Linked DNA regions of Homo sapiens: regions 1, 3, 4, 5, 6 and 7 are each linked to region 2. Evidence: promoter capture Hi-C in 16 types of primary human blood cells and fetal thymus (Javierre and others, 2016). All regions are on one chromosome and are shown on one strand. The core of a region is centred on a gene start or on the middle of the fragment in contact, and the rest is flanking DNA. Distances in the headings are between cores, read along the strand shown. Region 1 overlaps WDFY4 (WDFY family member 4). Region 2 holds the start of ERCC6 (ERCC excision repair 6, chromatin remodeling factor). Region 3 has its middle 38 kb from the start of WDFY4. Region 4 has its middle 6.6 kb from the start of MIR4294. Region 5 overlaps WDFY4 (WDFY family member 4). Region 6 overlaps WDFY4 (WDFY family member 4). Region 7 has its middle 22 kb from the start of WDFY4.

Region 1 (2,700 bases), core at 187-2,686, 650 kb after region 2:
AGAACACCATTCTGTTCTTGGACATTATTCTTGGTGAGGACATAGACCCTGAAACTTGAAGGTTGGAAACTTGTAAGTTCTGGAAAAGCTTGGAGAAGAACATTTCAAGGAACGGGGACATCCAGTTAAGGGCCTAGAGGCAGGAAGGGCTGATTTGGGGAACAGAAAGTGGTCAGTACGGCTAAGATGAAGTTGGAAATTAGGAGTACCAACATCATAGGTGGTCTTAGGTACCTTAGCATGGCCCTTGGGTTTTATTGTGGTTGCAACAGAAAGCCATGGGAGAGTTTGTTTCCAAAAGATGACACTGACTGCTGGGTGGAGATGGCATTAGAAAGGGTCAAGACTGAAAGGAGGGTGCCCCGTTGTGTTGCTATTTCAGTGGTCTGGGATGGATGGCAGAATGCAGAGGGAAGGAAGTGGGTGTATCTAAACAAGAAGATGGAGAATTGACAGGAGCTGCTACTGGACTAACTGGAAAGCAAAAAGAAGAAAAAGAAAAGAAAAGGAAAGGGAAAGAAGGAAGAAAGGAAGGAAGGAAGGAAAGAGGGAGGGAGGGGGAGGGGAGAGGAAAGGAGGGGAGGGGAGGGGAGGAGACGGAGGATGAATTGAGGATAAATGATAAATGTCTACTTTGGGACTTGAGTAACTGTGTGGCATTCCCAGGTTCTCTAGTAGTCTTCCCCAGGGGCAACCACCATTACCACTTTATTGGATATTCTTCCAAAGAGATTGTATGAATACATTAGCATGTTTATACATATTCTTTTTTACACAAAGAACATTTATATGCTTACTGCTCTGCATCTAGACTTTTCTCTTAACAATTCATCTTAGATAATTTTCCAAATCATTTATCATAGAGCTGTCTAATTCTTATTAATAGTTGCAGACTATTCCCTTGAATGGATATGCTACAGTTTATTTGACCAGTCAGTCCTTTTTTGATTCAGGTGGCTTTCAAATGTTTTGACATAACAGGCAATGCTACAATGACCATCCTTGCAGATAAGTCATTTTGAATACACAAGTAAATCTGAAGCATAAATTTTTTTTTTTTTTTTGAGATGGAGTCTCGCTCTGTTGCCCAGGCTGGAGTGCAGTGGCGAGATCTCCACTCACTGCAAGCTCCGCCTCCTGGGTTCATGCCATTCTCCTGCCTCAGTCTCCTGAGCAGCTGGGACTACAGGCACCCACCACCACGCCCGGCTAATTTTTTGTATTTTTTAGTAAAGATGGGGTTTCACCGTGTTAGCCAGGATGGTCTTGATCTCCTGACCTCGTGATCCGCCCGTCTTGGCCTCCCAAAGTGCTGGGATTACGGGCGTGAGCCACCGCGCCTGGCCTGAAGCATAAATTTCTATAAGCAGAATTGCAGGTCAAGGGTATGGGCATTTTTAATTCAAGTAGCCATTGCCAGATTACCCTCCCACAAGGTGACACTAATTTACACTCCCACCAGGACTATCAGGAAGATTATGTCAGGCTGCTTAAACTTTTTCTCTTATTGTACCTTTTCCCAGATGAGACTCAGAGACCCCAACCTCAGGTTCACATGATGAGATGATGTGGCTCTGCAATGCCAGCCCTGGCCTATGTGCCTCCAAACCCTCTCTCCTCCCTGTGACACCAGGCCCCCACCACAGCCTCCATGGTGCCTGCACCAGGGTCTCAGAGCACATGCCTATGATCTGGTGCTTCCCTTTGGGAAGACTTAAGTATCAACCAGAATAAGCCAAACCACAAGAAAAATGTCTGGTGAGAGCTGGGTTAATAGCTTAAACATTGATTCTGCTAGAAAAGAAATGGCATTTTAAAAACTAGAAAATGAACCCAAGTGAACTATTACCTGCTCTTCCATTTAAATTAGCCCTAGGAGGGCTCCATCCCTAAGTTTACTCATGATTAAGAAATCCCTTATGCCATGATTCTATTGATCACTTTAAAGAGTAGAACTTTTGCCTCATAAGTAGAGCTTTTTTAAGATCAACTGAATGATATATTAGCACTCTTGATGGGTAAAATAACTAAGAAAGTAGCCACAGCTAGCTCTGTGTATGATGACAAACAGGTTGTCCAGAAATCAACAAAATGCTGGAGCGAAAGTTAGAAGGTGTCTTAGTCCATTATCTGCTGCTATAACAGAATACCCCAGACTGGGTAATTTATAGAGATAAATGTTTATTTGGCTATTGGTTCTGGTGGACAGGAAGTCCCAGAGCATGGCACTGGCATCTAGTGAGGGTCACCCCATGATGGAAGGGCGGAAGCTGGAAGTGAGCATGCAAGACAGAGACAGAAATGGGGCTGAACTTATCCTTTTTATCAGGATCCCACTCCCATAATAATGAACCCATTCCTGCAATAATGGCATTAATCTATTCATGAGGGTCATGCTCTCATGGCCTAATCACTTCTTAAAGACCCCATCTCTTAATACTGTTACAATGGCAATTAAGTTTCCAACACAAGAATTTTGGGGGACATTCAAACCATAGCAGGGAGACAACAATCTACTGGGACATTCAGTGGTAGCACACAGCAGCACATTCTTCTAAAGTCAGGCCTCAGTGGTACATCTATAATGGGCAAGGTCAACCGGATACTCTCTAAAGTTTTCTCTAGCATTAGCAGTCTGCAACTTGGTGAAATACCCTGATTTTATAGGTAGGAAAACTGAGGTCCAGAGAGGTGACTGAA
Region 2 (2,700 bases), core at 101-2,600:
ATCCACTATATATCTGCTTTTACTTTCAAGCATTGAAACTAATGTCAATCAACTGCCTTTCTATTCTTAATATTTTATCCAAGAAATCGCTAGAATTCTTTCTCCTTTAAAAAAAAAAAAAAGCAAGTTACAAGCCGGGCGTGGTGGCTCACACCTGTAATCCCAGAACTCTAGGAGGCCGAGGCGGGTGGATCACCTGAGGTCAGGAGTTCGCGGACAGCTTGGCTAACATGACGAAACCCCGTCTCTACTAAAAACACAAAAATTAGCTGGGCATGGTGGCAGGCGCCTGTAATCCCAGCTACCCGGCAGGCTGAGGCAGGAGAATCGCTTGAACCTGGGAGGAGGAGGTTGCAGTGAGCCCACATCGTGCCATTGTACTCCATCCTGGGCGACAAGAGCAAAACTCCGTCTCAAAAACAAAAACAAAAACAAAACAAACAAAAAAACCCACTACCACCAACAAAAACAAGTTACATTGTGGGTTGGGGCCGCTGACAGGAGGAATAAGATGATGTTATGGAGCATTTCCTAGTCCCCTTTCCGACCCCATTTCCCTATTGTCCGACTTCAGGCTTCCAAGTGAGGACAGCACTTCCCAGGCAGTGACCCGCAGTCACTGCCCTCCCAGAGGACGTCCTGCCTCGCGGCCCTGGAAAGTCCACCTTCTCCTAGCACCGATCCTGAGCTGAGAAGCTCTGTCTGGTACAGCCATCCTGCATCGTGGGCTGCTTCTTTCCCCAGGCGAAGCTCAACTTCCTCCCATTGTTCTGAACCTCTGTGTGGACATCTTCTTTCTTCAAACGCACCACGGTAAAATTCTCGCCTGCCTCGAAACCCCGCCTACCTCTGAGATCTGAGGACGGATACTAAACGCTGGACTTAAGGCAATGTACACATGTAAGCAGGCTCTGTAGGCACTCACTCCGCCCAGGTGCGCGCGTGGCGGAGGGGGAACAGAGAAGCAGGACAGCTCTCCATCCTTCCCGTGTTCAGTCGTGGGAGACAACAAGAGAGGTCACAGCCTGGCGACCAAAAAGTGCGGCTAACTTCCCTGCCCAAGCTGACTTTCTCTGCAGGGTTCAAGGTTAATTGTGAGGATTTACATTCGCATGGCACACCCGCATCCCCCTCTACGTGGAAATATGTCTTAACTTTCATAACTGCCTTGCCAGCAGGGTATTTTTCGCTAGGGGCGAAGCGTCCTTCGCAAGCCACCCAGCTGACCGGCAGCGGAGACAGCTTTCTCGCCCTGCTCGCACGCAAGTAGAAAGGCGCTGCTGAGCCCGTCCCTCCAAACCACGTGGTCTTGCCCGTGCTTAAAAACAAACGCTGAGCCAGGCGCATGCGCCACGGGCCTCCCCGCACCAGCAGAAGTCGGAGTCGCTGTTGGGGGCGGTGTCTATGGTTGAGCTGAGGGCGCAGGCGCCACGGCCCGTCGAGCTGGGTTCCAAGGCGGCTGGCGGCGGTAGCGTCTCTGTTTCCTTGTGGGCGCTCGCGCGGCCCTGGGTGAGTGTTCGGGGGTCCCGGCCGAATGTCGGGCAGGGGGTGTCGGGGCCCAGCTCAGGCTTCTCGGGCGGGCCGCGGCCCCGCGCCTTGGCCTCGCCGTGGTGATTGAGCCTGTCAGCGAGGACGCACTGTAGCGGGTCTTAGGGCCAAGTGCCCGCTTCCGGCGGCCTCACCTGAGACCGGAAGTAGCGCCAAGGAGCGCTCACCTGAGGCGGCTTGAGTCCCTGGCCGGCCAGCGACCCAGCTACTTCTCCGACTTTGTATAAGGCCCCCTGCGCGCAGGGTCAGCTGGGTCCTTTTTGATCTCGATTAAAATGCTGGAGCTGTTATTTTAAAGAGAGTCGGGCTAGATGTACGTCCGACGTTTTGGGCGTTGATAGAGTCAAATTGATAAGAGTGTGGGCGGATGAGGCAGGCCGCCTGTAAATGCTGCTGTTACGTGACTTCCACGCAGCGTCTTAACTGCTGTCATCCTGTGACAGGCAGCCCTCGCTTTTCTCCTCAACTTTTCCCATCATCTTCTTGTTGCTTTGTCTCCTCCAATCCATTATCCGCACAGTTGTCCAGGTGGTCTCTGGCATAAAGTAGGTCATGCCATCATCAGCCTACTTAACAGTTTTCAGAGTCATTCCATTGCACTGGGAGTGGAATCCATGCTCGTGTTTTCCCAGGCCTTGTGTGATTTGGCCCTTGCCTGTCCCCTCTCAGAACTGTGCCTGTGTCCGACCAACCCTCCAAATGAGACCCAGCTTGCCCCTGGCTGCGGGAGCCCCAGTGATGGGGGAGGACGGTGAAGATACTAGTGTCCCAGATGATTAAGCCTTAGAAGATACTCTGCAAGACTTAGGCCATGAACGGAGCCCTTCTCTGCTCTTCTTAACTCAAAGTTAAAAATAAAGTCAAAAATTCGGTGTTCCAGCCTTCTTGCATTTTCACAAGTGCATCAGCTCTTTCTAGTCTTAAAAGTTACGCACGTTGTTGGGAGGCCGAGGTGGGTGGATCACCCGAGGTCAGGAGTTCGAGACCAGCCTTACCAACGTGGTGAAACCCTGTCTTTACTAAATACGAAAAATTAGCCGGGCATGATGGCATATGCCTGTAATCCCAGCTAATCGGGAGGCCAAGGCAGGAGAATCGCTTGAACCCGGAAGGCGGAGGTTGCAGTGAGCCTGGCGGAGCCTGGCGGAGGTT
Region 3 (2,700 bases), core at 84-2,583, 890 kb after region 2:
CCTCAAGCCCATCTGCAACTAACCCTTCCTCCCAACCCCAACCTAAGGAAACCATTGATCTGCTTTTTGTCTTCATAAATGTGCCTTTTCTGGACATTTTCTATAAACGGAAGCATAAACTGTGTAGTGTTTTGCATTGGGCTTCTTTCATGTAGCATAACGTTTTGAGGGTCATTCATGTTCTCGTGTGAATCAGTGATCAGTGTGCTCCTTTGTAGCTGAGTAATACTCCCTTGTAGGGATGCACATTGTGTTTCTCCGCTCACCCGTTGATGGACTTTTGGGTTGTTTTTGGATTGGGATTATTACGAATGATGCTGTTATGAGCATTCACATGCATATGCTTCTGTGAACACACGGCTTTCATTTCTCTTGCTGGGTCGTATGGTAGGTTTATTTTTTAATTTTTAAGAAACTGTCAAAATGTTTTCTGAAATCTCTGTACCATTTTACATTCCCACCGTCATACAATCCCACCTCATACATAAGGGTCCCAATGTTTCCACATCCTCACCAACACTTGCTATTGTTTTATTATAGCTATCCTAGCGGGTGTAAAGTGGTATTTTATTGGGGATTTGATTTGCATTTGCTTAACCATTAATGATGTTGAATGTACTTTCCTGTGCTTATTAACTATTCATATGCCTTTTTATTTCCATTTTTATATTTTTTGATACTGAGTTTTGCTCTTGTCGCCCAGACTGGAGTGCAATGGCGTGATCTCGGCTCATTGCAACCTCTGCCTCCCGGTTCAAGCGATTCTCCTGCCTCAGCCTCCTGAGTAGCTGGGATTACAGGCACCCACCACCACGCACAGCTAGTTATTGTCTTTTTAGTAGAGACAGGGTTTCACCATGTTGGCCAGGCTGGTCTCAAACTCCTGACTTTAGGTGATCCACCCCTCTCAGCCTGCGAAAGTGTTGGGATTACAAGTGTAAACCACCAAGCCCAGCCTGTTTGTATGTCTTCTTTGGTAACATGCCTATTTAAATTTTTTGCCCATTTTTAAATCAGGTTGTCTGTCTTATTAGAGTGGTAAGAATGTTTACATGTTCTAGATACAAATCTATTATCAGATATATAATTTGCCTAAATTTTCTCCTAGTCTGTGGCTTGACTTTTAATTTTCTTAATGGTGTACTTAAATTTTAAAGTGCAAAAAATCTTAATTTTGTCGAAGTTCAGTTTTTCTATCTTTTCTTTTATGAATCATGCTTTTGATATGGTATCTAAGAGTCCACCTAACCCAACATCACAAACACTTTCTCCTGTGTTTGTTTCTAGAAGTTGTATGGTTTTAGCATCTACATTTAGAGCTAAGACCAATTTTGAGTTAATTTTTGTATATAGTATGAGGTACAGTCAAAGGGTTGTTTTGTTGCTTGTTTGTTTGAAGGGTTTTTGTTGTTGTTGTTGTTGTTGCTGCTGCTGTTTCGCTTATGGATAGCCAATTGTCCCAACACCATTTGTTAAAAAATTTTCCTTTCCCCACTGAATTGCCCAAGCTCCTTTGTGAACTATCAGCTAGCCACAAATATTGGGGTTTACTTCTGGATTCTCAATTATATTCTATTGACCTGTAGACCTATCCTTGTGCCTATACCATACTATCTTGATTACTATAACTTTGGAGAAAATGTAAAAATAGGTAGTGTGTAACTTTATTCTTTTACAAAATTATTTTGCCTATTCTAGGCCCTTTGTGTTTTTATATAAAATTTCAAATTAGCATGCCAATTTCTCCACCCCATAAAATGTTTCTGAGATTTTGATAGGAATCACATTGAATTTGTAGATTCATTGGAAGATAATTGCCATCCTGACAATATTGATTCTTTAACTTCATGAGAAAGAAATGTACTTCTAATTATTTATATCTTCTTAATCTTCTCTCAGAAGTGTTTTCTGCATGTCTTCACATCATTGTTAAATTTATTTCTAAATAGTTTATTCTTTTTGATATTATTGTGAATGGTGTTGTTTTCTTAATTTCATTTATGGAGTTTTTGTTGCTGATGTGTAGGTATACAATTGATTTTTGCTATGTCCATCTTGTATTCTGCAACTTTGAAAAACTTATTAGTTCTAGCAGATTTTTAAATTAGTTCTTGTGATAATTTTCCAAACACAGTATCATATCATCTGCAAATAAAGACAGATTTTCTTCTTCCTTTCCAATCTGGCTTTAAATTTTTCTCTGCCTCTCTTCCCCTCCTTCCCTCTCCCGACCCTCTTTTTTCCCTTTGTCTCTCACTGTCTATTGTACTGGATAGAATAATACAGTATATTGTTGACTAGAAGTGGAGAAAGTGGCTACCTCTGCCTTTGTCCTTATTTTAAGGGGAAAGCATTCAGTATTTTCATGGTTACATATGATATTGGTCTCTGGGTTTGTCATAGATACCCTTTAACACATTAATTTCCCTTCTACTCCTAGTTTGTTGAGAGTTGTTGTTTTTTAAAATCATGAATGGCTATTGGATTTTGTCAGATGCTTTTCTGCATCCATTAGATGATTATATGGGTTTTGTCCTTTATTCTATTTCTATTAATAAAATATATAGATGTGTAATAGATGTACAACATTAATTGATTTTTTCAGGTGTCAAACTAATGTTACATTCCTGGGATAAATCCCATTGATTCATGGTGTATAATCCTTTTTATATCTTGCTGAATTTACTTTGCTAATATTTT
Region 4 (2,700 bases), core at 171-2,670, 550 kb after region 2:
TGGGTCTTGAAGGCACAAGTAAGTTACATGAGGAAGTGGCTCAAATGCCCATGGTCTCCACTCCTGCTACCTTGCCTTCTCTTCCCCAGCCTGCACCGATGGCCTCATGGGTAGTTCCCTATGATCAGATGACAGAAGGAGGAAGAGAACCATCACAGATGGTTCTGCACAATATGCAGGCACCACCCGAAAATGGACAGCTGCAGCATTATAGCCCCTTTCTAGGACATCCCTGAAGGACAGCGGTGAAAGGAAATCTTCCCAGTGGGCAGAACTTTGAGCAGTGCACCTGGTTGTGCACTTTGCATGGAAGGAGAAATGGCCAGATGTGCGATTATATACTGATTCATCGGCTGTAGCCAATGGCTTGGCTTGATGGTCAGGGACTTGAAAGAAGCATGATTGGAAAAATGGTGACAAAGAAATTTGGGAAAGAGGTATGTGGACAGACCTCTCGGAGTAGTCAAAAACCATGAAGATGCTTGTATCCCATGTGAGCACTCACCAACGGGTGAACTCAGCAGAGGAGGATTTTAATAATCAAGTGGATAGGATGACCCATTCTGTTTCTGTGGATGCCACTCAGCCTCTTTCCCCAGCCACCCCTGTCATCGCCCAATGGGCCCATGAACAAAGTGGCCATGGTGGCCAGGATGGAGGTTATGCATGGACTCAGCAACATGGACTTCCACTCACCAAGGCTGACCTGGCTATGGCCACTGCTGAGTGCCCAATTTGCCAGTAGCAGAGACCAACATTGAGCCCTCTATATGGCACCATTCTTCAGGATGATTAGTCAGCTACCTGGTGGCAGGTTGATTATATTGGACCTCTTCCATCATGGAAAGGGCAGAGATTTGTCCTCACTGAAATAGACACTTACTCTGGATATGGGTTTGCCTATCCTGTATGCAATGCTTCTGCCAAGACTACCATCCACGGACTCACAGAGTGCCTTATTCACCATCAAGGTATTCCACACAGCATTGCCTCTGACCAAAGCACTCACTTTGTGGCTAAAGAAGTGCAGCAGTGGGCTCATGCTCGTGGAATTCACTGGTCTTACCACGTTCTCCATCATCCTGAAGCAGCTGGATTGATAGAACGGTAAAAATGGACTTTTGAAGTCACAATTACAATGCCAGCTAGGTGACAATACTTTGCAGGGCTGGGACAAGGTTCTCTAGAAGGCCATGTATGCTCTGAATCAGTGTCCAATATATGGCACTATTTCTCTTATAGCCAGGATTCATAGGCCCAAGAATCAGGGGGTGGAAATGGAAGTGGCACCGCTCACCATCACCCCTAGTGATCCACTAACAAAATTTTTCCTTCCTGTTCCCATGACATTACATTCTGGTGGCCTAGCGGTCTTAGTTCCTGAGAGAGGAACACTGCCAACAGGAAACACAACAACAATTCCATTAAACTGAAAGTTAAGATTGTACCTGGACACTTTGGGCTCCTTCAACAGGCTAAGAAGGGAGTTACAATGTTGACTGGGGTGATTGACCCGGACTATCAAGATGAAATCAGTCTGCTACACCATAACAGAGGTAAGGAAGAGTATGCATAACAGAGGTAAGGAAGAATACAGGAGATCCACTTGGGTGTCTCCTAGTATTACCATGCGCTGTGATTAAGATCAATGGGAAACTACAACAGCCCAATTCAGGCAGGACTACAAATGACCCAGACCCCTCAGGAGTGAAGGTTTGGGTCACTCTACCAGGAAAAAAACCACGACCTGTTGAGGTGCTTGCTGAAGGCAGAGGGAATCCAGAATGGGTAGTTGAAGAAGGTAGTCATAGATACCAGCTACAACTACATGACCAGCTGCAGAAACGAGGACTGTACCTGTCATGAATGTTTCCTCCTTCTTTCGTTAAAAACAGGTTTGTGCATGTATACACTTGTACTAAGAAAATATCTTCATTTTATTTCCTTTTTCTTTAACATGTGACATAAGATTTATTGACTTCATGTCAGCATTTAAGTGTTGCTAACTTCAGGTAATAGTATTTGGGTTGGGGATTGGTGTGTTTCCGGTTGTACAAAGGATAGTTTTATTAAGTTAGGTGTAATTATGACCTTATTGTTTTCTTTATTTGAAGATTATGTATGATATCAGGAGATGTGTGTGGGTTCAAGTTGACAAGGGGTGGCCTTGTGATGGTTAATAATGAGTGTCAACTTAATTGGATTGAAAAAAGTATTGATTCTGGGTGTGTCTGTGAGGGTGTTGCCAAAGGAGATTAATATTTGAGTCAGTGGGGTGGGGAAGGCAGACCCACCCTTAATCTGGTGGGCACAATCTAATCAGCTGCCAGAAAATATAAAGCAGGCAGAAAAACGTGAAAGGTGAGACTGGCCTAGCCTTCAGCCTACATCTGTCTCCCATGCTGGATGCTTCCTGCCTTCAAACATTAGACCCCAAATTCTTCAGTTTTGGGACTCAGACTGGCTCACCTTGCACCTCAGCTTTTAGACAGCCTATTGTGGGACTTTGTGATCATGTAAGTTAATACTTAATAAACTCCCCTTTATATATATATACACACACACATATATGTATGTATGTGTGTGTATAGATGCATATATGTATGTATATGTATACATATAGGTAGGTGTGTATATATATACATGTATGTATATATGTATGCATATATATGTATGTGTGTGTGTGTGTGTGTGTGTGTG
Region 5 (2,700 bases), core at 156-2,655, 590 kb after region 2:
CGAAATATTGTTAGTGCTACAAATCTGGTTAAAGATATTACCACAAAGAAAACTGTTATTTTTTTCACAGCTGTCTAATGCATTTTAGCTAAAGTAATATCTTTAAAACTTAGGCCTGTATTATTTATAAAGGAAGCAATAACTGATTTTCCTATTTGCTATATTAATAAATGTATTTGCATACATTTGTTTCAAAATTAATGGGTCTTCTCACTTCTGCAATACAAAAGAAAACACCAAATTCCCTAGAAGAAAAAGTGGAGTTGCTTTGTTACTTGTATTGTAAGTCTGTGGGTTGATGTAAACTCTGGTGGCTGCCAGCGAGCAGTCCCAGCTAAGATTGAATTCTCCGAAAGGAAGGAAGGAGGAAAGAAAGAGAAGAGGGAAAAATGGGGCAAGAAGGTAAGAGGCAGAGAGACCCAGTCAAGGTTTACAGAGTGTCTATCTAAGGAAAGTCCAGACCCAAATGAAATAAACCAGCACAATTAAGTCTAGAACTTGGAAGGGAACAAAGTGATCAAAGAGAATTCCTGAACCAAGAGCTGCTCTGGAATCTGTTCTGCAACAAATCCTACCTGTATCCAAACAAACTGTAAAAAATAATAGCAAGGTTATTATTGCCAACAAAGGAACAATTTCTTATTGGCAGAAGGTTTTCCCATGTGACATTTAGGCCAGAAGACAATGGAGCCAGCCAAGCCTAGAGGATTCTGAGGCAAAAGGTTACAGTTGTTGGATTTTGTGCTCAGTTAAGACATCACTCACATGTAAAGATGTGGGAACATTTTGAATATTGAAGAGTTCAGAAACAATATAATCCTAGGTACCTCTTCTCAATTAAAATCCTTTAGGAGGTGCTAAATATTGCTAAGAGATGAAGCAAAATTGAGGGCAAAATAATAGGAAAAGAAGTGGCTAGCAAGGACTATTCCTGCACATTGATCCAAGTTAAAATCAGGGGACAGTCTATAATTATGGTATGATGGCTAAAGCTGGAAAACCTGAAAAGAAATGTTCTATATTAAAGGAAATACTCCTTTCATGAGAGGACACAAAGTCTATGTGCACCATTGCCTATGGATGAGCATTTCAATCACTATTAGACATTCATAAACCCCTCTCCAATGTGGCTTCAATTCTTGGCCCACATTCACAGGAAATTCAGTAACTGCACATGCTGAAGGAAACCAAGATGCACAGATATTTCTATAATATATGCTAGAAAGTCTATTCTTCCTTCCTGATAACACTGATCCAAATCAACCTGCTGCCACATCTGGATATGGAAGTGGTTTTATCAGCAGGCTGACAACCCATTCTCACTGCAGATATTCTTTCCAGTAATTTAAAAGTACCCATGCAAACAACTCACTTACAGGACCCTGTTGATATATCAGTTGATCTAACCTGCTGTCTTTAGCCAATCAAAGAGGCAGTATGCAACGGTGGAAAGCACACTGGCTTCAGAAGCAGACTGGCTTGGGCAGGAAGTTCAGTGCCCACTTAACTTGCAGGATGAACTCAAGTGAGTTTCTTAATCTCTTTAACCGCCCATGCCCTTGTCTATGAACCCTGGATGATAGCTGTTGGTGTGAAAGCAATTGTGTGTGTGTGTGTGTGTGTGTGTGTGAGAGAGAGAGAGAGAGAGAGAGAGAGAGAGACATATCTCATGCGATGAAGCAGGCACATAGAAAGAGGTGCCAAATGAACCCAGCCCCTGTGTCCTTTTCCCTTCACAGACTAGGATTAGAACTAGGGAGCAATCCTGGGCTTGGGCCCTGATCTCAGTGTGCATGGGGAAGGCAACCAGGAGCTCCAAAGGAGAAGGGGATAGAAGTTATGGAAGGTAGGAGGTGGGGTACAGGGGGAAGTGAGGAGAGGCGGGATCTTCCAGTGGCGAGGACAGAGGTAGGAGGGTGGGGAATCTGAAGGACTGTGGGATGACAACAGGAAGGAGAGCCTGAACTGTCAGGGCAGCTTTTGGTAGCAACAGCACCTCAGAAGTAACGGGGCAAATGTGTGAGGGGAAAGGAAAGCTGGACCCAGCATTCTCTGAGCCTCTGCAGGAAAAAGCCAGGCCCTGACACGCTACTGAATAAGCTAAAGGCATAGGACCCTCATGGCGTTGGGAAGCCCACGCACTGGTCCAGCTGCCTCCTTGGTCTTGCTCTCACAGAGGACGGGATGACCCCAGAGTGGCCATTAGCTTTCCTTCCTGTAGGTGGTGGCTCTTTTCTAAATGAGTGAACCCGTCAAGACTTGCTGAAACCACGCTGCCTGCATTAGGAGGAGGAGGGTGGGCACGTAGGGGACACTAAGGTCAGCCAAAATGGCTCATGTCGTATCTCCTTTAGTCCTCACCACCCTCCCAGCTAGGGGTTATTTTAAAGGATGAAGAAACTGAGGCTCCGTTGTTCAATAATGCCAATTAGAAAGTTCTAGAGCCAGGAGATTATCCCGGGACTGTCTGTCTCTATTGCACGTGCTTTTCCAATACTCCTCAAGTCTGTATGATAAAAACCAGACGGTGTTGGAGATCCTGAATGATTCTCCTCAAGTCACACTTTGGGCCCTTACAGATCCCATGCCCTTTCACTGTAATCAGAGGGAGGCTGGCAGTTTCTATGTCTAGCCCCACAGCCCTGGCTGCATTGGGTAGGCTGGCCCTATGTGAGCCTTAGGGTACCAGGAGGTGGGTTG
Region 6 (2,700 bases), core at 26-2,525, 560 kb after region 2:
TATTTACTTTTTCCCTGCAAAGAGCCTTGTCTTTTCCCTTCCTTTGCTGTAGGTACCCGTTCTGGAATGGTCTCAAATGCAACCTGCAGGTTTGGCCCCCTGGAGGAAGTGAGAAGAATGGAGATGAACACGTTTCTTGTGTCATGTCCTCATTCTGCCCAAGACACACCTACCCGGACCATGCCGTCTTGACTCCCGGTGATGATGATCTGGCTTGTGTCCCATGCTGGGCCCTCCATCAGGCAGCAGCAGGTTATGGCTCCTTCTGGGCCCCAGGCTGTGGTGATGCTGGCCAGGGGCTGTCCATTGACATTCCACAGGGACAAGTGTGCTCCCGCACAGGAGACAATGGTGCCCTGTGCAGTGAGAGCTGGCATCACTCTAAGCTGGAGTCACTGCCTGCCCATCAGCCACTTGCTCAGCTACCCAGTTGGTACACCCAAGTACTCTCAATCTGTCATGCTCTGAAGACCCCCAAGGTACCCCAAAACTTCTTTCCAGCTGACTTACAGGTCTGCTGTGTTTTCACACAGTTGTAAATTCTTGGTTCTTTTCATACTGCAGTCATGTGCTTAGATACTTCTTTCCTGGCAGAAGGCACCTGGCTCACCCTCAGGCTCCTCCCAGATCCCACTCCCCAACCACACCCTGACTGCCACAGAAGATCCAGCCTGAAGGGTAGCCCTGGCTTTGGACACACAGCTTACACCTGGTAGGTCAGCCCTGCCCCATAAAGAAGTTTTGGATGCCACCTGGTGGATGGCAGGGTACAGAAGTTCCAATGACTGCATGTGGCTCATAAGCTTGTGCAATGTCCCTGAAGAGGGAATTTCTAAGGAGAAATTTCCCCATTGTATCTCCTGATATGCTCACATTTGAGTCTTTCCTCCTCAAGTCCTGTTTATTCTATAGTGGCCACTGTCACCAAGGTCCTGGGGCCATCCCTTTGAGCCTTGCCCTAATCACAGAAGGGATGTAGGGTGCTCAGTGCCCCTCCACATCTCACTGGGCTGGGATCCATTAGAAGTTCCTGAATTGTTAGGGATGGTCTGTCTGAGGCCAGAGGCCATGTCTGATACCTCTCTGCCCCACAACCAGCAAGCACAGACTGAAATCAGTTGGCTGCAGGACAACTTGTCCTGGTGCCAGGCTTCTCTGGGGTCTAGGGACACAATTCCTGATGGGTTTTATATTCTCCCAGGTGAAGGCTTCAATGCCTTCTATACATCAACCCATCCATCCATTCACCCACCATCTACCAATCCATTATCCATTTCATCCATCTTTCCATCCACCTATTCATCCATTTATCTGCTCATTTATCCATCCATCCATCCATTCATTTATCTATCTACCCATCCACTCATCTATCCACCCGTCCATCCATCTATCCATTCATCCACCCATGCATCCACTCATCTACCCATCCATCCACCCATCCATTCACACTCCATCTACTCATCTAACATTGAATCCAGTTTTGAATTCAAGCCTACCTGGAGCACCACTTTCAGCAAAAATTGGAACCAGGAAGCTCCTATATCATCCCTCCTCTTTTGAGCCCTCTGCCCATTTTATTTATGCCCTGGGCCCCTTAGGTTTTCTGTGAGCAGATGCAGAAACCTCTGCATCCTCAGGGAACCCCATATCCCATGACAGGGCTTCAGTCTGGAAGAAATTTCACACCGGTAAGTCGATCTCCCTGGTCTTTGTTAGCCAGTATGGAAGGAGAGGCAGAGAAGCTTGCACTGCCATGAAGACCAAACCTGCCAAGTCAACACTGATTTGAAGGTAAAGACCTAAATGAGTCAGCCACATCCAACAAAACCCTCCCTAAAAGCCAATTTTTCAGCTGCAGCCCCCTGGTGCCCGCAGCAAAGCAGACACTTCCCACTGTCCCCAACACCAGAGGGAGGAAAGTAAAGAAGCGGACATTGAAGCTAGACCTGGGTGCTACAAGTGAGATCTACAGCGACTGTTCCACACAATTGGGGGCCCTCTCAGCATTCTGGGGTGGCTAGAGTCTCTGTGTCTCTGGGCTTTCTCCTGAGTGTTGTACCCCATGCTACTGCGAAGGTGAGGACACGGACACTGAGAAACAGGAGACTTACTGAGACGTCACTGATGGTGATGGCTGAGATGCCTTCCCGATGGGCGGGCAGGCGGGTCACGTGGGTGAGGTGGTCCAGATCCCACAGGATACAGGTGCAGTCCTGGGAGCCGCTCACCAGGAGGCTGAAGGTGACTGACGCTGCCAGGCACGTGACAGCCTGTGTGTGTCCATACAAGGCCTGGGGACAGAGACTCACAGGTTAGGAGAGGGACCCTCAATTCAGCTACTTTTGGGAATTCTTCACCCTCCCTATAAAGCTGGGTGCTGGATGAGGAAATGGAGATTCTGAGTGAGTCAGTGATTCCCAAGTCTGTTGTCTGTGCAGCTGGGGGTGTGTGCATGTGCGTGTCCATGACTAGCCTCTCCATTTCATTCATCTCCAGGGGTGGAGGCTCTGCTGGGGAGAAACCATTTTTTTACTTATAACCCAACCAGAGGCTAGCCACACCTGGATGTTTTGTGCTGCCCTACATCTATCTTGAACCCGGGAGCAGTTCATGTCATGAGTTGTTTTTTTTTTTTTTTTTTTTTTTTTTTGAGACGGAGTCTTGCTCTGTTGCCTAGGCTGGAGTGCAATGGCATGATCT
Region 7 (2,700 bases), core at 112-2,611, 880 kb after region 2:
CTGCTGGAGGGTAAGGTGTAAACCTGGTGACACATGGCCATGGAGTCAGCAGTGACTTCATACCCACATAAGAACTAAGATGCTACCTGTCCAGGAAACCAAGGAGGGCCCTATCTTGGACTCTACACTTTGAGGGCCCATGAGAACCCAAACAGCACACATCTATTCATGGATGTATGGAATGGGCACCTCTGTTCCTCGAGAGGTGTGCCCAGTGCTGCCCTGCATGACCCATGGCCCTGACCCTGCACACCTGCTCACTGGACTGGCATTGTCCAGCACCTCATCTCTTGCCCTATGTATGTCCTCAAAAGAAAATGTGATTGGATCCAAATGTTATGGATTTGGCTTGCAGGATCAGCTTAGGTTTATGGGTTGTGCCATTGCCAGCAGGAACATTGCTTCCATGTCTAGGAGGAATTGAACGTGGAAGCAATAGGAAAAAAATCTAAACTTCCAGAGGCTTCCTCTCAGATCACCTAAATGTAGTAGGTTCTCCATAAGAAATCTCATCTCTGAATAGTGCCAGACATGTATTTTTTTTTCTGCTCTTTGAGTTCAAATTCATAGTTTCATAGGTACTTATATATCATTGCAAAATTCACAATGGTTCTTCATTGCAGCCTGGAAATATTTCATGCTATTAAACAGCTCACTCCCTCTTAGATGCATATGTGTTGTTCTGGATGTATAATGTCACTTGCGTGAAGTATGACATAGATTCTTCATAGCACCCACTAGATGCAAAACAAACACCAGAAATGCTAACAGTTTAATTTTTAGATTTATTTTTTATTTTTAAAATCACAATAAGAATTTAATTTTATCAAATAATGTTTTTTAATTTTTTGTATTCTTTAATTATCATATACATTTTGCTTTTTGATTTTTTAGAGAAATCTTTAAAACTGTAGTAATAATAACATGCATTGGCACAGTTTCAACATCCTAACAAGACCTATCTATGTGTACACATGTTAGACTGGTAATGTATATTGTTGCCACTAGTGAGTACCTACTCTTTTGCAGATTCACAGGAAGTTGCAAAAATAATCAAAGAGGTCCCAGATCCCCTTGACTCAGTGTCTCTCAGTGATTCTATCTTACATAACTTAGTACAATATCAAAACCAGGGAACTGGCATTGATGCAATGTCTATCACTCCAGTTGTATTACATGCAGATTTATGTAACCACCAGGGTGCAGAACTATCCTGTGGCTGTAAGCTATCCCTCATGCTGTCCCTTGTAGTCACACCTGCCTTCTGCCCCATTTGTCCCTAACCCCTGGCCACCTCTCATCTGCTCTCCAACTCATTTAGAGAATGTTATATACATGAAATAATGCAGCCTATGTCCTTTTGGGACTGGCTTTTTTCGCTAAACGTAATGTCCTTGAGATCCACCCAAGTGGCTGCAAGCATTCATAGTCCTTTCCTTTTCATTGCTAGATAGAATCCATGGCATGGCTGTGCACAGGGTGTTTAACCATTCACCTGTTTAACCATCTTGACTGTTTCCAGTTTGAGGCTATTACAAATAAAGCTGCTTTAGAAGCCTCCCCTCACTCATCCTCACACCATGTGTGTTGGTTGGAACTGATTCCACCCTCAGCAGTGGGATGGATGCATGACCAAGGCCCACCATATGAGACTGTTCCCTGCCCCAGCTGCAACGATGGGTTCAGGTCTGTGCACATGATCCATGATGGTCCATTCAGAGGTCATCTCAAGGGTTTTGCTAAAACCATTAGGTTTTTTTTTTTTTTAACCAAAAATGTCTTGAAAAATTACAGTCAGCCCCTCTGGGCCTTGCAGTCCTCAGCTATGAAATAAGGATAAAAATCCCTGTGCTAACAGGTTAGTATGTATTTGTTCATTCAACAAACTAAGAAGTGTTTACTGGACCGGGCGCGGTGGCTCACACCTGTAATCCCAGCATTTTGGGAGGCCAAGGCGGGCGGATCTCGAGGTCAGGAGATCGAGACCATCCTGGATAACACAGTGAAACTCCGTCTCTACTAAAAATACAAAAAATTAGCCGGGCGTGGTGGTGGGCGCCTGTAGTCCCAGCTACTTGGGAGGCTGAGGCAGGAGAATGGCGTGAACCCAGGAGGCAGAGCTTGCAGTGAGCGGAAATCACGCCCCTGCACTCCAGCCTGGGGAACAGAGTGAGACTCCGTCTAGAAAAAGAAAAAAAAAAAAAAGAAGAAGTGTTTACTGAAGAAGTGTGGGGGAGCATTTCAAGAAGTGGGGAGCATTTCAAGAAGTGGGAAGCAGGTACAAAAGCCCTGGGGCAAGAAAGGAGTTGAGTGGCCAGTATGCTGAAAGCATAAATGCCAACAAGGTGGCAGTGGCAGGGTAGGGGGATTGAGCATGAACAGGACCAAGATAAACTAGAGAAACAGGCAAGGACCTCTCAGGGAGGGCCTTCTAAGATCCAGCAGGAAGTTTGGACTTGAGGCTCAACATGATGAGAAGCCATTGAGGTGTTTATGCAGGGAAATGGCATGCCCCAATTTACATTTTACTGCTGCATGGAGAATGGCCTGGGGACAATAGAGCATGCATAGAAGCCAGTGCAGAGGCTCTTGAATGAGGCCAAGCAAGAATGGCAGTGGCACATCTAGGGTGGTAATAGTGGAAAGAGAGAAAAAAGGATGGACTTGGGTTGTATCTTGGAAATAGAAGTGACTACAAGG

The links. Contacts are between HindIII fragments. The CHiCAGO score rates a contact against its expected background, and 5 or more counts as called.
Region 1: a contact is called between a fragment that was not itself captured here and the fragment with the promoter of ERCC6 in region 2, in 1 of 17 cell types (M0 macrophages). The highest score is 5.6, in M0 macrophages.
Region 3: a fragment that was not itself captured here is called in contact with the fragment with the promoter of ERCC6 in region 2 in 1 of 17 cell types (neutrophils); the score reaches 6.6 in neutrophils.
Region 4: a contact is called between a fragment that was not itself captured here and the fragment with the promoter of ERCC6 in region 2, in 1 of 17 cell types (M0 macrophages). The highest score is 8.9, in M0 macrophages.
Region 5: a fragment that was not itself captured here is called in contact with the fragment with the promoter of ERCC6 in region 2 in 1 of 17 cell types (M0 macrophages); the score reaches 5.6 in M0 macrophages.
Region 6: a fragment that was not itself captured here is called in contact with the fragment with the promoter of ERCC6 in region 2 in 5 of 17 cell types (naive B cells, M0 macrophages, M2 macrophages and 2 more); the score reaches 9.5 in naive B cells.
Region 7: a contact is called between a fragment that was not itself captured here and the fragment with the promoter of ERCC6 in region 2, in 4 of 17 cell types (neutrophils, endothelial precursors, monocytes and 1 more). The highest score is 5.4, in neutrophils.

What each region holds. Positions count from the first base shown.
Region 1 is chr10:48,886,143-48,888,842 of GRCh38, reverse strand. All of the region lies in intron 43 of WDFY4 (WDFY family member 4), which reads right to left. Among named protein-coding and RNA genes, the nearest start is that of LRRC18, 52 kb to the left of the region's middle. The HindIII fragment of the contact is 2,691 bases long and covers 91-2,700 here.
Region 2 is chr10:49,537,771-49,540,470 of GRCh38, reverse strand. It overlaps ERCC6 (ERCC excision repair 6, chromatin remodeling factor), which reads left to right and starts at 1,350. Exons shown (of 21, transcript NM_000124.4): 1 at 1,350-1,509. RefSeq lists enhancers at 668-907, 938-997 and silencers at 1,418-1,707, 2,653-2,700. The HindIII fragment of the contact is 12,532 bases long and covers 1-2,700 here.
Region 3 is chr10:48,645,369-48,648,068 of GRCh38, reverse strand. It overlaps a transcript of ARHGAP22 not described here. Among named protein-coding and RNA genes, the nearest start is that of WDFY4, 38 kb to the left of the region's middle. The HindIII fragment of the contact is 3,792 bases long and covers 1-2,700 here.
Region 4 is chr10:48,990,817-48,993,516 of GRCh38, reverse strand. No RefSeq gene overlaps it. Among named protein-coding and RNA genes, the nearest start is that of MIR4294, 6.6 kb to the right of the region's middle. The HindIII fragment of the contact is 3,569 bases long and covers 1-2,700 here.
Region 5 is chr10:48,952,264-48,954,963 of GRCh38, reverse strand. The region is part of intron 51 of WDFY4 (WDFY family member 4); the gene reads right to left. Among named protein-coding and RNA genes, the nearest start is that of LRRC18, 14 kb to the right of the region's middle. RefSeq lists an enhancer at 2,331-2,700. The HindIII fragment of the contact is 6,093 bases long and covers 1-2,700 here.
Region 6 is chr10:48,974,453-48,977,152 of GRCh38, reverse strand. It overlaps WDFY4 (WDFY family member 4), which reads right to left. Exons shown (of 62, transcript NM_001394531.1): 58 at 2,112-2,291; 59 at 174-356. LOC105378298 (a long non-coding RNA gene) reads left to right here. Exons shown (of 4, transcript XR_007062370.1): 4 at 53-174. Among named protein-coding and RNA genes, the nearest start is that of MIR4294, 9.8 kb to the left of the region's middle. The HindIII fragment of the contact is 939 bases long and covers 806-1,744 here.
Region 7 is chr10:48,661,458-48,664,157 of GRCh38, reverse strand. No RefSeq gene overlaps it. Among named protein-coding and RNA genes, the nearest start is that of WDFY4, 22 kb to the left of the region's middle. The HindIII fragment of the contact is 2,889 bases long and covers 1-2,700 here.